Regions from separate parts of the Homo sapiens genome. Here regions 1, 2, 3 and 5 are each linked to region 4. Evidence: promoter capture Hi-C in 16 types of primary human blood cells and fetal thymus (Javierre and others, 2016). All regions are on one chromosome and are shown on one strand. Each heading gives the region's core, a stretch centred on a gene start or on the middle of the fragment in contact. The rest is flanking DNA. Distances are from core to core; before and after follow the strand shown. Region 1 holds the start of EIF4G1 (eukaryotic translation initiation factor 4 gamma 1). Region 2 holds the start of LOC105374247 (a long non-coding RNA gene). Region 3 overlaps ATP11B (ATPase phospholipid transporting 11B (putative)). Region 4 holds the start of KLHL24 (kelch like family member 24). Region 5 overlaps MCCC1 (methylcrotonyl-CoA carboxylase subunit 1).

What was found. Contacts are between HindIII fragments. The CHiCAGO score rates a contact against its expected background, and 5 or more counts as called.
Region 1: a contact is called between the fragment with the promoter of EIF4G1 here and the fragment with the promoter of KLHL24 in region 4, in 1 of 17 cell types (total CD8 T cells). The highest score is 5.0, in total CD8 T cells.
Region 2: a contact is called between a fragment that was not itself captured here and the fragment with the promoter of KLHL24 in region 4, in 3 of 17 cell types (fetal thymus, M2 macrophages and monocytes). The highest score is 5.8, in fetal thymus.
Region 3: a fragment that was not itself captured here is called in contact with the fragment with the promoter of KLHL24 in region 4 in 2 of 17 cell types (fetal thymus and total B cells); the score reaches 9.3 in fetal thymus.
Region 5: a fragment that was not itself captured here is called in contact with the fragment with the promoter of KLHL24 in region 4 in 1 of 17 cell types (naive CD8 T cells); the score reaches 5.1 in naive CD8 T cells.

What each region holds. Positions count from the first base shown.
Region 1 is chr3:184,313,162-184,316,022 of GRCh38, forward strand. EIF4G1 (eukaryotic translation initiation factor 4 gamma 1) reads left to right here and starts at 1,445. Exons shown (of 33, transcript NM_198241.3): 1 at 1,445-1,513; 2 at 2,328-2,384; 3 at 2,602-2,695. The coding sequence starts at 2,636. RefSeq lists enhancers at 868-1,368, 2,093-2,714 and silencers at 1,196-1,525, 1,546-2,255. The HindIII fragment of the contact is 4,143 bases long and covers 1-2,556 here.
Region 2 is chr3:183,105,765-183,108,464 of GRCh38, forward strand. LOC105374247 (a long non-coding RNA gene) reads left to right here and starts at 2,461. Exons shown (of 3, transcript XR_924772.3): 1 at 2,461-2,630. It also overlaps a transcript of MCCC1 not described here. The HindIII fragment of the contact is 1,801 bases long and covers 520-2,320 here.
Region 3 is chr3:182,795,296-182,798,080 of GRCh38, forward strand. The region is part of intron 1 of ATP11B (ATPase phospholipid transporting 11B (putative)); the gene reads left to right. Among named protein-coding and RNA genes, the nearest start is that of ATP11B, 3.2 kb to the left of the region's middle. The HindIII fragment of the contact is 989 bases long and covers 855-1,843 here.
Region 4 is chr3:183,634,301-183,637,000 of GRCh38, forward strand. It overlaps KLHL24 (kelch like family member 24), which reads left to right and starts at 1,323. Exons shown (of 8, transcript NM_017644.3): 1 at 1,323-1,493. LOC107986162 (a long non-coding RNA gene) reads right to left here and starts at 2,309. Exons shown (of 2, transcript XR_001741042.2): 1 at 2,235-2,309; 2 at 1-1,984. RefSeq lists an enhancer at 1,169-1,228 and silencers at 1,649-1,758, 1,769-1,838, 2,029-2,348, 2,399-2,700. The HindIII fragment of the contact is 5,143 bases long and covers 970-2,700 here.
Region 5 is chr3:183,085,350-183,088,049 of GRCh38, forward strand. MCCC1 (methylcrotonyl-CoA carboxylase subunit 1) reads right to left here. Exons shown (of 19, transcript NM_020166.5): 4 at 1,344-1,439. Among named protein-coding and RNA genes, the nearest start is that of MCCC1, 13 kb to the right of the region's middle. The HindIII fragment of the contact is 948 bases long and covers 883-1,830 here.

The DNA of each region.
Region 1 (2,861 bases), core at 195-2,694, 680 kb after region 4:
TGGCCAGGATGGTGACCCCGTGATCCGCCCTGACCCCGTGATCCGCCCGCCTCGGCCTTCCAAAGTGCTGGGATTACAGGCGTGAACCACCGCGCCCGGCCCATGATCCTTTTAAACGACAAATCTCATACTACTTGCCTAGTTAGAATGTTTCTAACTTTTTAAACGACAAATCTCATACTACTTGCCTAGTTAGAATGTTTCTATCCTTTTAATTTCCTTTGTTATAGGCCTTTCAAGGACCTAATCTAAATTCTTTTCAAAGCCTGCATAATTCGTGTTGTATCACGATTTACTTAGGCAGGACTGAGTCTTTAATTTCTTTTTTTCTTTCTTTTTTTTTTTTTTTGAGATGGAGTCTCACCCTGTCGCCAGGCTAGAGTGCAGTGGCGTAATTTCGGCTCACTGCAACCTCCGCCTCCCGGGTTCAAGCAATTCTCTGCCTCTGCCTACCGAGTAGCTAGGACTACAGGCGTGCGCCACCAGGCCCAGCTAATTTTTTGTATTTTAGTAGAGACGGGGTTTCACCATGTTGGCCAGGATGGTCTAGATCTCCTGACCCCGTGATCCGCCCGCCTCGGCCTCCCAAAGTGCTGGGATTACAGGCGTGAGCCACTGCGCCCGGCCCATGATCTTTTTAAACTACAAATCTCATACTACTTGCCTAATTAGAATGTTTCTATCCTTTTAATTTCCTTTGTTATTGGCCTTTCAATGACCTAATCTAAATTATTTTCAAAGCCTGCATAATTCGTATTGTATCACGATTTACTTAGGCAGGACGGAGTCTTTAATTTCTTTCTTTTTTTTTTTTGAGATGGAGTCTCGCCCTGTCGCCAGGCTAGGCTAGAGTGCAGTGGCACAATCTCCGCTCACTGCAACCTCTGCCTCCCGGGCTCAAACAATTCTCCTGCCTCAGCCTCCCAAGTAGCTGGGACTACGGGTGCGCCACCACGCCCGGCTAATTTTTGTATTTTTAGTAAAGACGGGGTTTCACCATGTTGGCCAGGATGGTCTCGATCTCTTGACCTCGTGATCCGCCCACCTCGGCCTCCCAAAGTACTGGGATTAAGGTGTGAGCCACCGCGCCCCGCTTATTTTTTTTTTTTTTTTGCCGAGACTTTGATTTCAGTTTCTCAGCCCTCAACCAGCACTTCGCCTTGTACTTAGCATGCACTCAATAAATGGTTGCTTAAAATATGAATGAACTAAAGAATCGCGGAACAGAGAGAAACACAGAGGGGAATCGGTCTGGGAGTTTCAAAGTTCGGGAGGGGACACGGGGGCGGGCTGTGGCTGTCACGTGACGGGGCGGGGGCAAATCCCATGTGCTCGGCGGCGCAGATCGCCCGGCGCGGCTCCGCCCCCTGCGCCGGTCACGTGGGGGCGCCGGCTGCGCCTGCGGAGAAGCGGTGGCCGCCGAGCGGGATCTGTGCGGGGAGCCGGAAATGGTTGTGGACTACGTCTGTGCGGCTGCGTGGGGCTCGGCCGCGCGGACTGAAGGAGACTGAAGGTAAAGCCGCCATGTCCGGGCCCGACCCGGCCCCCCCACCCCCTCCCCCCGCATCCGCCGCCATCCGGGCCGGGACCGGCCACCCTGCGCCGCCGCCCCGGCGCCCTGGCCCCGCGGCCCGACCCAGGGCCCCGGCCCGCCAGGGTCCCGATCCCCGGCCCACGTGTGCCTGGCCCGGCCGGGCCTGGCTGCTGGGTGGGGGTGGGGAGCGCAGGGCCGGACTATGCGGGCCCCGCGGGCTGGTAGGGCGCCGGGTTCGTCGCCGCGAAATGCCACCTCGGCCTGACCCGAGGAGGCCCGGCAGCCCACGGGCGCAGGCACCACGGCTCCCGGCCCGCCGCCCCCTCCCCCCTTCGCGGCCAGGCCGCCGGGAAGTGACACGTTGTTCTTTGGCACTGGCCCGCGCTGCGCAGGGAGGGCGCAGGGGAGGGAGGCGGTGGCGGCGGGCAGGGAGGAGCCCCCGGCCCCGCCCGCCCTCCGGGCCGACCCTCACTTGCCTGAAACCGGCTCCTCGACGGCCGCCGCCCGCCTGGCCTTTTAGGGCCTGACTCCCGCCCTTCCTGGCCTACACTCCTGGGCGGCGGCAGGCCTAGCTTCTGGCCCAGTGCGGGTTCCCCGGCGGCAGGCGTATCCTGTGTGCCCCTGGGCCAGGCCCGAACCCGGTGTCCCCGGGTGGGGGGTGGGGACGCCACGGCCGAAGCAGCTAGCTCCGTTCGTGATCCGGGAGCCTGGTGCCAGCGAGACCTGGAATTTCCGGTCTGGTTGGTCTGGGGCCCCGCGGAGCCAGGTTGATACCCTCACCTCCCAACCCCAGGCCCTCGGATGCCCAGAACCTGTAGGCCGCACCGTGGACTTGTTCTTAATCGAGGGGGTGAGTGAGGGGTCTGTTTCAGTAGGTCAGGGGTTGGTTGGAAGTGATGCGGGTTTGACAGCATGTTGGTGGGGACAGGCTGTATCTTTTCTGCTTCACCCTCTTGGCATCTCTGGGACTCCGTATGGGACCCAGCCCTTGCATCAACCCTTTCACCGCCCCATTTGCCTTAAGCTTGGGTCCCTTCCTCTTCCTGAGCGCCACTCTTTCCCAACAGGTGCTGGGGGGACCCTGATGTGGCACCAAATGAAATGAACAAAGCTCCACAGTCCACAGGCCCCCCACCCGCCCCATCCCCCGGACTCCCACAGGTAATTAGGGAGGAATTAGCAGGGGTGGGGGTGGGGGAGACCAGGCAGTCTCCAGCCTCTGGATCTTCCTACCCCCATCTGTGTCAGGGCAAAGTGCAGCCGCCTGCTGCCAAATTGAGACAGGGCCCCTGGGCTGTCCCCGGGGGCTGTCACGGGGAGGGGGTAT
Region 2 (2,700 bases), core at 170-2,669, 530 kb before region 4:
GTATTCCTGATAACAAAAAGTGTCACAAAAGACTGCCAAAATTGGCCTGGTGCAGTGGCTCACGCCTGTAATCCCAGCATTTTGGGAGGCTGAGGCAGGTGGATCACGAGGTCAGGAGTTCAAGACCAGCCTGGCCAACATGGTGAAACCCTGTCTCTACTAAAAAATACAAATATTAGCCGGACATGGTGGCTGGTGCCTATAATCCCAGCTACTCAGGAGGTTGAAGCAGGAGAATCACTTGAACCTGGGAGGGGGAGGTTGCAGTGAGCCCAGATCGCGCCATTACACTCCAGCCTGAGCAACAGAGAGTCCGTAAAAAAAAAAAAAAAGACTACCAAAACTACAACCTTGCACAAAGGCCATCACAACCTTACACAAAAAATACTTCTGCAAGAACATGTGTCCAGCAACTGCCTATGGAACCCTGGACTGGCATCACCCATGTTATTCATCTTTGTAGCCAAGGATAATTATTTCAAAACAATTACATAATACTCCTCATGTTTTCCTTTAAAAAGCTTACTCCCATTGCAATGGCTTATTCCAAAATAAATATCTTTTTCTTTTATAGAGCCTCTCTCTGTTCCTTATTTAGGCTGATACTATAGAAAAACACATAATTTTAAAATGTTTTGTTTTGCTATAACTTCAAACTTACAGAAAAGCTGCAAGAATAGTACCCTTCACCTAGATTTCCCAAATGTTTCTTTGTTCTTTTCTTTCTTTCTTTCTTTCTTTCTTTCTTTTTTGAAACAGAGTCTCGCTCTGTCGCCCAGGCTGGAGTGCAGGGGTGCAATCTCAGCTCACTGCAACCTCAGCCTCCCAGGTTCAAGCGATTCTACTGCCTCAGCCTCCTGAGTAGCTGGGATTGCAGGCGCTCCACCATACCAGGCTAATTTTTGTATTTTTAGTAGAGACGGAGTTTCACCGTGTCGGCCAGGCTGATCTCAAACTCCTGACCTCAGGTGATCCACCCACCTTAGCCTCCCAAAGTGCTGGGATTACAGGCATGAGTCACCACGCCCAGCCCAAATGTTTCTATTTTATCGCATTTGCTTTATCTTTCTCTCTCTCCCTCTCCTCATGCAGATATAGATATATATGTGTACACACACACACTCACACATGCATACACTCACATTTTCTTTTGGAACCATTTGAAAGCAGGCTGCAGACATGATGCCTTTTTTTTTACCTCTAACTATGTCACTGCATATTTCCTAAAACAAGGAGATTTTATCACTTGCCCACAGAATATTTTTGAAGATTGTGAAGTTAACACTGATACATACTATTATTTATTCTACAGACCTACTTTGACTTTCAACAATTGTTCCAAAAGAAAACACTGTAGTGGCCAGGCGCAGTGGCTCACGCCTGTAATCCCAGCACTTTGGGAGGCTGAGGCGGACGGATCATTTGAGGTCAGGAGTTTGAGACCAGCCTGGCCAACATGGTGAAACCCCATCTCTACTAAGAATAAAAAAAAAATTAGCTGGGCATGGTGGCATGCACCTGTAGTCCCAGCTACTGGGGAGGCTGGGGCAGGAGAATCGCTTGAACCCAGGAGGTGGAGGTTGCAGTGAGCTGAGATCGTGCCTTTGCACTCCAGCCTGGGCAACAAGAGCGAAACTCCATCTCAAAAAAAAAAAAAGAAAAAGAAAAAGAAAAAGAAAACACTGTAGTACACATTGCATTGACTCTTAGGTCACTTAATTTGTATTGATTCCTCTGTTTTGTTTTTATTATTATTATTATTATTATTATTTGTTGTTGTTGTTGTTGTTGTTGTTGAAATGAAGTCTCACTCTGTCACCCAGGCTGGAGTGCAGTGGTGTAATCTTGGCTTACTGCAACCTCTGCCTCCTGTATTCAAGTGATTCTCATGCCTCAGCCTCCCAAGTAGCTGGGATTACAGGCGCATGCCACCACGCCTGGCTAGTTTTCTTTTCTTTCTTTTTTGTAGAAACGGAGGTTTCACCATGTTGGCCAGGCTGGTCTCAAACTCCTGACCTCAAGTGATCCGCCCGCCTCAGTCTCCCAAAGTGCTGGGATTACAGGTGTGAGCCACTGCACCCAGCCTGATTCCTCCGTTTTTAAAAAGATGCTGATGATGCTGATATTTTTTATGAATACAGGCCAGTTGTTTTGTACAATATCCTTGAATTTGGGTTTGCCAAAAATAAAATCAGATTAAATTTAAATTCTCAAAAAGATTATTGAGCATACAAAATAACAGTTCCCAAACTAGAGACCTCTGTGCAGCTTCCTAAATGAGGAAGTACGTTGATCTCTGTTGTGCAAATAAAGCTGCATAAGCTTGTTTGTATTGGCTTAATGTTATTACGCTGACAAGGAAGAAAAAGTGTGTTATGGTTAGGGCTAGCATTTTCAGGGAAATCAGGATAGTTTAGGTTTTGACTACACATGGCTGTGGGTTGTTGGCCTAGGGAAATATCCAAACTGTGGCCTCCAATTTTATTTTTCTTTAACCTGTTCATCTGGTATTTCCTCATGATTAGATTTAGGTTATTAGATTTAGGTAATTAGATTCCTCCCTTTTGGCAGGAATACCACAGAAGTGATGTCATACCCATTTCAGTGCATCATATCTGGAGCTACAAAATGTGAGTTTGTTCCATGATGTTAACTTTATCACTTGATTAAATTGGTGTCTGCCAGGTTTCCTCACTGTAA
Region 3 (2,785 bases), core at 99-2,598, 840 kb before region 4:
CTGATTTACCTGATGGTGTTTTTGTGTGGTAGGAAGATCATTTTAAAGTGGTTCTCTTGAAGCTTTTTTAAAAATGTATTGAGACATCCTTTCTCACTGTTAGGTATTTTTTAGCCAGAATAAAATCCTGGTTGTATAACCATGCTCATCTTCAAGACAGAAAACCTGGTAATGTTTTTTAAAATGGCTTCAAATGAACCCAGCTAAAAGGAAGGGCCGGAAGTTGTGTGTGGTTATTTTACAAGGCAGCCGTCTTAACAGGGATGGTTAACGAGTTGAACAAGTTCCTGTGCATAAAAAATGCTATCTCTGACATTTAGTTGCTCACCTCACTGGTTTTAAGTTATCAGATCCTCTAAGTATGTAATCATACTTGGGCCAATGTAGGACTTTGTGTCTCTGGTTAAGTTTGTATGATCACATAAATTAAACATCAAGGACCCTGGATACAGAGTAATGAAAGTATATTTTGCTATCCCAGTCATAGACAGCTATTCTGATTACTGCACCAGAAATTATTCAACTCAGGTAAAAGCTAGTTTAGATTATACTTCCAGTGGCTTAATGGATTGAATCACCACGACTTTCAGCAATGGGTTTATTTTAAAATGCAGATAACTAGGACAAATTTGGGGAAATTGACAAGCAAATCCTAAGGACAGGTTGGAGTTATAAGCATATTTAATTCGTTATATGAATCCCGATTTTCAACTAATGTCTCACAAAAAAGTCCTTTTATTACAGAAACAATGCCTATGTTCTAGTAATTTCTTTTTAATTAAAAAAAAGTGTGACTCCTTATGACAAAATATTTTCACTACTTGAGAAGATGGAAAAATCAGAAAGTTGACAGAAGCTTGATCTTTTCTATTGGGAAAGTAGGCTGAAAATAAAAAGATTGGAATATCCTTTTTTGTTTTTCTTTTTGGCACACAATGTTAAAGTTACTTGACACTAAGAAAATTCTCTTATGGTGTCTTTGTGGTACAGTTAGTATTATTCAAAGTATACTCATTTTCAGTACCATATTTTATGTATTAACTCATTAGAGATGACAATACCTTGATTATAATTATGGAAATGCCATTAGCTACTCACTGTATTCTAATATTTAGACCTGTACGGTAGCCATTAGCCACAAGTGGCCATTAAAATTAAAATTGGAGCCATATGTGGGTATTAAAATTAAAATTTGAATTCATGTGTCTATTGGCTGCCATTGGCTGCCATATTGGACAGTTCATATTTTCATTATCACAGAAAATTCTATTGGACAGCACCAATTTAGACTTTTAAATGAAAGTCTGTGTCAGTACATATTTGAATGTAATACTACATTTTTAAAGCACTTGCTGTGTGCTGGTATTAACAGATGCTGAATACCAGGGATACAAATGTTGGTCAGGGTCACACATACTCTACATAAGTAGACATTGGATACATGTTGCTGAACAAATAATTAATAGATGAGGAAAGAAAGAATGAATCTGTAGTGTTGTTTCTGTGTTTAGAGACAAAAATGACCAAATTTAAGATTGACTAGCCCAGAAAAAAGTTAGAAAATGAGTAATTACACAAAAACAGTATTACTAGGATAACTGTTTCTTAAACTGTTCCATAAATGTAATCCCTTTAGATTGTATTGGCGATGGTGGTAGGAGGCTGCTAAGATTGTCTTCTGATTAACTGAGAAAAATGAGAAGGTCTTAATCTGAACTCCCTCAACTTTCTGTTCTTCCTCACACTCACCGAACTTGCTTATATTTTATACTGGTACTTAATTCTTCCCTTCACAGTCACAAGGAAGATGCAACCCTCTTTTCCAAGATAACAATTCCACTTAAGCTTTTGATCCTTTTCTTTCATTCTGCTGTCCATACTCCATCAGTTATCATTAGTATGTTTCTTTTCTTTCTCTTTACTTTTTCTCTTAACTTGTGAACATGTTCAAGCCTCTCTGCTACTTTTTCCTGTACCTGTAACTGGCAAATTCTTTTTAATTTTCTGAAAAACAGATCTATAAAACTGTGCTGGCTGATGTATTTGGAATGTGGCTAGTTTGAGTAGAGTTATTCTTACGTATAAAATACACATTGGATTTCAAAAACAGTATTAAAAAATGTAAAACCTGGCCGGGCAAGGTGGCTCATTCCTGTAATCCCAGTACTTTGGGAGGCCGAGACAGGCAGATCACCTGAGGTCAGGAGTTCGAGACCAGCCTGGCCAACATGGTGAAACCTCATCTCTACTAAAAATCCGAAAATTTGCCTGGCGTGGTGATGGGCACCTGTAATCCCAGCTACTCAGGAGGCTGAAGCAGCAGAATCACTTGAACGTGGGAGGCAAAGGTTGCAGTAAGCCAAGATCATGCCACTGGACTCTAGCCTGGGTGACAGAGGGAGACTCTGTCTCAAAAAAGAAAAAAGAAAAAAGAAAAAAGAACTCTCATTTTTTTGTTAGTTACATGTTGAGATATTATAATATTTTACATATATAGGTAAAGTAAAATAAATTTTTGGAATTTTGTTTCTTTTTACTTTTTTTAAAGTGGTTAGAAATTTTAAAGTTACCTACGTGACTTGCATCTGTTGCTCATGTTCTATTTCTATTAGTGCTGCTGTATAACATTAAAAGTGAATTCCTGTATCCTGGTAAGAATAGTGAGATCCTGTCTCTAGGAAAGAAAAAAAAATTAGCTGGGCATTGTGGTACTGACTTGTAGTCTCAGCTGCTTGGAAGGTTAGGGTGGGAAGGTCACTTGACCCAAGTAGTTTGAGGCTGCAGT
Region 4 (2,700 bases), core at 73-2,572:
CAAGATGGGAAATTGTATACGATTTGTCTCAACAATGAATAATAAATACATGGTCTCATTAGCGTAAACATTAATGATTTAACCAGATTATGAGAAGGATAGCTTCCTTAATAGGAAATAGTCATACATTATTTGGAAATATATAAATACCAGAAGAAATAGCTCAAATAATTGAATAAGAGATGGAAAAGAGGCCTAAAAAGTATGTTTAAAAGGCCTGTATATAGGCCTTCCATATTATTTCCGCCTCTGGTCATCAGAACACAACGCCTAATTTAATAGAGGCATGACGGTATTCATGACATGTAGAAGATAGAGATTTTTAAATTTGGTATCAGAAACCAAAAACTAGTTAAATGGTTGCAATCATCCTTTAAAAGAATACCTGCAGGCGGGGCGCAGTGGCTCATGCCTGTAATCCTAGCACTGTGGGAGGCCAAGGCAGGCGGATCACTTGAGGCCAGAAGTTCGAGACCAGCCTGGCTAACACAGCCTCTACTAAAAATACAAAACATTACCTGGGCGTGGTGGCGGGCACCTGTAGTCTCAGCTACTCGGGAGGCTAAGGCGGGAGAATCGCCTGAACCCGGGAGGCAGAGGTTGCAGTGGGCCGAGATTGCGCCACTGCACTCCACCCTGAGTGGCAGAGCGAAACTCTGTCTCAAAACGAAACAAAACAAAAAGCTTGCAGACACAAAACGACAACACAATGTCCTTTAGGAACTCCATCTACCTTGGAAAACAGGGATTTGTGACAGCTTTGGTCGACGTGCATGTGCGTTTAAAATAAAAAGGTAACCTAGGATTTGATACCAGGGACAGTAACAGCTTTATCAAAAAAAAAGAGGTGGTTTTCCTTGCTCCTTCTAAGGACTGGGGTTTTAGTCTCGTCCACCCTGCAGGCCCTCAGGCCTGATTTCCGATTGTCTATCAAAGGGTCAAATAAAAAGCTCTCTAAGCTTCGACCCAAGCTTTAAAGTCGAAGGGCTGATCGCGGGCTTTTTCCTTGGGACGTGGCAGGGGCCTTTGAGGGAAGGAAAGAAACGACTCTGGCTTCTCACTCGGCTCCTTACACAAGAGGCATTTTTTTAACTGTCTCTGCTTAAAACAAGGTGTTTTTGAGTCAGCAGCCCTTTGGGTGGGTCTCGTCCTCTTGGGCACCCGACACCCACCCCACGGCGGGAGCCCCAGGTGGCCCCGGAGGCCACCGGGAAGCGTGAACTACATCTCCCAGGGTTCCCCGGGGCGGAGGACGCCCACCCGGATTGGCCAGGGTTCGCTGACGCTCAGTGTTTTGGCCCGGACGGTCACATGTTTCCTTTGTTGTGAGCTGCGGCAGAGACTGGTGGCTGGAGGAGACGCCGGCGCTGGAGAGTGCGCTGCGCCGCCCGCCGCTGAGGGACCGCGGGGTTAGCCACTGCTGGCTGCTTCCAGTGTTCGCCGAGAGGTACCGGGGGTGACAGCTCCGGGACCGGCCGAAAGGCGAGGAACCGGTCAGAGTCTGAGTCCTCGGGGGCGGAGGGGCGACGGCGGTCCTGACCACCGGGGTGTCTGCGGGAGGGCAGCCAGCGGCGGCCGGCCTCTCAGAGCCAGACTGGCGGTCTGCGGAGAGGCTGCAGCTGGGCTACAGGGCCCCTTTCTGAGGCGAGGGGCCTCCAGGGTTCACCTGGGGGGTCTTCCTCCCCCGCTTGGTAGCTACAGCCCTGAGGGAGGGCGCGCGCGCCTCCTGGCACTACGGCCCGGAACCGCGGCGCGGCTGGTGCGGCCTGGCTAGGGCGGGGTGGTTGCCGGGACTGGGGGTAGCCGCAGGTGCGGTAGGCTAGTCGCCGCGGGGCCGGGCGCCGCCGGGGGAGGCGGCTGGGCAGACGGGTGCTGCTTGTTGCCGATGGGCTGCGAACGGGGCGCTGCTTTTTATTTCAGGAAGCCCGGGGGAGTGCGACCGCCTCAAATCCAGCCTTCTTGTTTGGTGGGACGACCGTCGGTTCTGTCCGGGAGGAATGACGGGGTCAAGGTGGGGTCCCCAGGGCCGCGGGCCCGTGAAGCCCCATTAAAGCGATTGCGAAATGCACTCGGCACTGTCACCTGACCGTTACCCCCGCCCCCGTCCCCTGCGAGCCTTTGTTTACCACGATCGCGACACCCGGCCCGCTGCGGCCGTCCCCGGGGAGCCGGGGCGGGCGGGGGAGCGGGCGTTCCGCCGGCGCAGTCCCCGCCTAACCTCCCCACCTTCTTACCACTCCAGGACTCAGTTTCTTAATTTAGTTCCTAATGGACCCGCCCTCAAGTTCTGGACACCCCGGGTGAAGACTGTTAACGCGGCGGGGATTGGGCGCCTGCGGCAGCTTGTGGGCGGTACCCGAGGGAGAGTTCGAGTTTTTATTGGCGAGTTTTTATTGTCACTAGGTGGGCCTGCCCTGGGCCATTCTTCCCGCCCCCTTGAAGGTGATCTGGAGGACGCGCGGGAGCGCGCGCTGTCGCTGCTTTTGCAGCTGCGGCCCGAGTGGAGCCGGGTGGCGCGGGTGCGGGAGGCGCGCGCTCCCGCCCCTGCTGCGGGCGGCTGGTAGCCTCGGTGGCCGCCGCCGCCGCTGCTGCTGCCTGATCCTGCAGGCAGTTCTGGGCACGCAGAGATCGGCTACCGTGGCCTGCCCTCCGAGGACCGGAAAATTAACACCCTTTAACTAGTGTCGCGTTATCTGCCGG
Region 5 (2,700 bases), core at 107-2,606, 550 kb before region 4:
ATACAAACTCCTTATCAAGACCTATAATGTTCTCACTTTGGGAACTGAGGCAGGCAGATCGCTTGAGCCTAGGAGTTCAACACCAGCCTGGGCAACATGGAGAAAGCCCATCCCTACAAAAAATAAAAAATTAGCCAGGTGTGATGGCATGCGCCTGTGGTCCCAGCTACCTGGGAGGCTGAAGTGGGAGGATCACTTGAGCCTGGGTGTTGGAAGCTGCAGCGAGCCATGATTGTGCCACTGCACTGCAGCCTGGGCAACAGAGCAAAGACCCTGTCTTTAAAAAAAAAAAAAAAAAAAAAAAAGAATGTTCTAAATGATGCTACCCCTACCTCTCTCTGCTCCATCGTCTCCTACCACTTTCTTCCTGTAAGATGGTTCTCCCAGCTGCAAATCCAGCCTTCTACGTGGTGCCTTGTGAAGGGGCTCTGCCTGTTTGCCAGTGGGCTTCCTGTTAGGTTTCACCAGTAGGGGTCACTGTAGGGAAACTTGAACAAGGAAGCTTTCCTTCTCCTCACCGCCGGGAAGCGGCCATTGGTTCCAGTCTTCAGGTTCTTTTGGAACTCCAAGAACCAGCCTCATTAAGCCCTCGGCAGCCAGGCAGGGCCCCTCCACAGATCTGAGAACAGCTGCAGAAAGTCCCTCCCCCAGTCTCTCCTTCAGCCCAAAGGGTGGTTTTCAATTTCTGTTATTATTAAAGGGTAATTTCAACATCCCCACCCTGCCTTCAGCTCTCTAACACTGGTGGAACTAATTCCTAAACTAAGTTCCTTCTGCTGAAACGTCAAATGGAATTTTGGTTTTACTGACTATACCTGAATGACACAGCCCCTTACTGCCTTCACTCCAACCACACTGAACATTCTTCTCCCTTGAACACCAAGCTTGTTTTCATCTCAGAGTCTTGGCAATTCCATTTGCCTGAATCGTCTTCCTTAAGTTCCCTACGTGGCCCTAGAATGAGACTGGGAAGTTGGGGTGGAAATATATTTCTTTCTTGCTTATATTTTACCTTGTAATTCAGAGCCCTACCTACCTATTTCTCCCAAAGGATTTGAGCTTGTAGTTTTGAGGATAGAAGAGCTGAATTCTCTCCTAATTTTAACTTGTAATTTAGACCCTCTTTCCACCTATTTCCCAAAGGATCTAAAGTACACAGGATCCAGTAAAAAGGCAGACTGGCTGAGAAATGAGATGGGACATGCCTAGTTTACAATGATAATCCAATAATCAAATGTAAAGATCTTGGGAAAGGCTAAAAATAGAAAATTTCTATAAGTAACTTTGCATCAGTTGCACAAAACGTATTCCTTTTGCACTGCAAATCTCTTCACAACCCTCACCTGTGCAGCAGAGGTCTTGGCCACTTGAATGATTTTCTCCATAGATAGGTAGCTCTGCTGGGAGGGAGCGGGGCCGATGGAATATGCTTCATCTGCCTGTTTAAGAAACATCACATGCTTAAAAGACTTTGTGGCTAGTACATACTCATACACTATACAGAACTGCTTCAGGGTCATTTTATTATTGTAAATAAAAATGCCACTCCCTCAAGAACAGTGCAAGAATTGAAAAACTGAAGTACCAATGTATGTCTACACTATAAAAATAAGCCAGTCTTAGAATCTTTTGCATGAAGAGGGTAACAAAACTTGGTTTTCATGCATAAGCCACACACTGGTGTGAAACTAAAGTGTCTCAGGATAAAAAGCAACAGACATTAGTCATGATATTATTACTAAAACAATAATAACCTTAAATGTATTCAAGGCCAAAAATTTATATTTGATAATAGAAACAAAATATGTGACAGATGTACACAAAGAAAAAAGCTTACAAAGTTGATTAAAGTTTATATAATTATCAGAGTATGATAATGCTTTCATACATTTGTGAATTATTTTATATTATTCCTTAAAACTTACACAAAATCATAGCATCCCTTGAAGTAGACCATTTAGAGCACATCATTCATTCATTCCAAGACTTACTGAAGGCCTACTACGTGCCACACTTTGAGGTGGGAGCTGCCTGTACCATAGTGAACAAGACAAATGTCCCTGTCTAGGGGGAGAGACAGACATTAAAAATACATTCACACACTTAATGACAACTGTGATGAACGTCATGGAGGAAAAACCAAGGGCATAAATGCTGTAGGAGGAAGGCCTGATCTGGTCTGAAGGTGATCAGGAAATGCCTAGAAGGGAAGTCAGGGGAGGCTCCTCAAGGATGATCAAGACTGGCCGGGCATGGTGGCTCACGCCTGTAATCCCAGCAAGGCCAAGGCGGGCGGATCATGAGGTCAGGAGATTGAGACCGTCCTGGCTAACACAGTGAAACCCCATTTCTACTAAAAATACAAAAAAAAATTAGCTGGGCGTGGTGGTCGGCACCCGTAGTCCCAGCTACTCGGGAGGCTGAGGCAGGAGAATGGCGTGAACAGGGAGGCGGAGCTTGTAGTGAGCCGAGATTGCGCCACTGAACTCCAGCCTGGGCAACAGGGCGAGACTCCTTCTCAAAAAAAAAAAAAAAAAAAAGGATGATCAAGACTTTGCCTGGCAAACAGATCAAGAATGTGGAGCTGAGAACAGGAATGGAGCTGAGGATGAGGCTCTCAGGCACAGAAAACAACCTACATAAAGGTGGGAGGAAAACTGGTCCAGCTGAGTGACCGAAGAAGGCTTGTGTGGCTGGAAC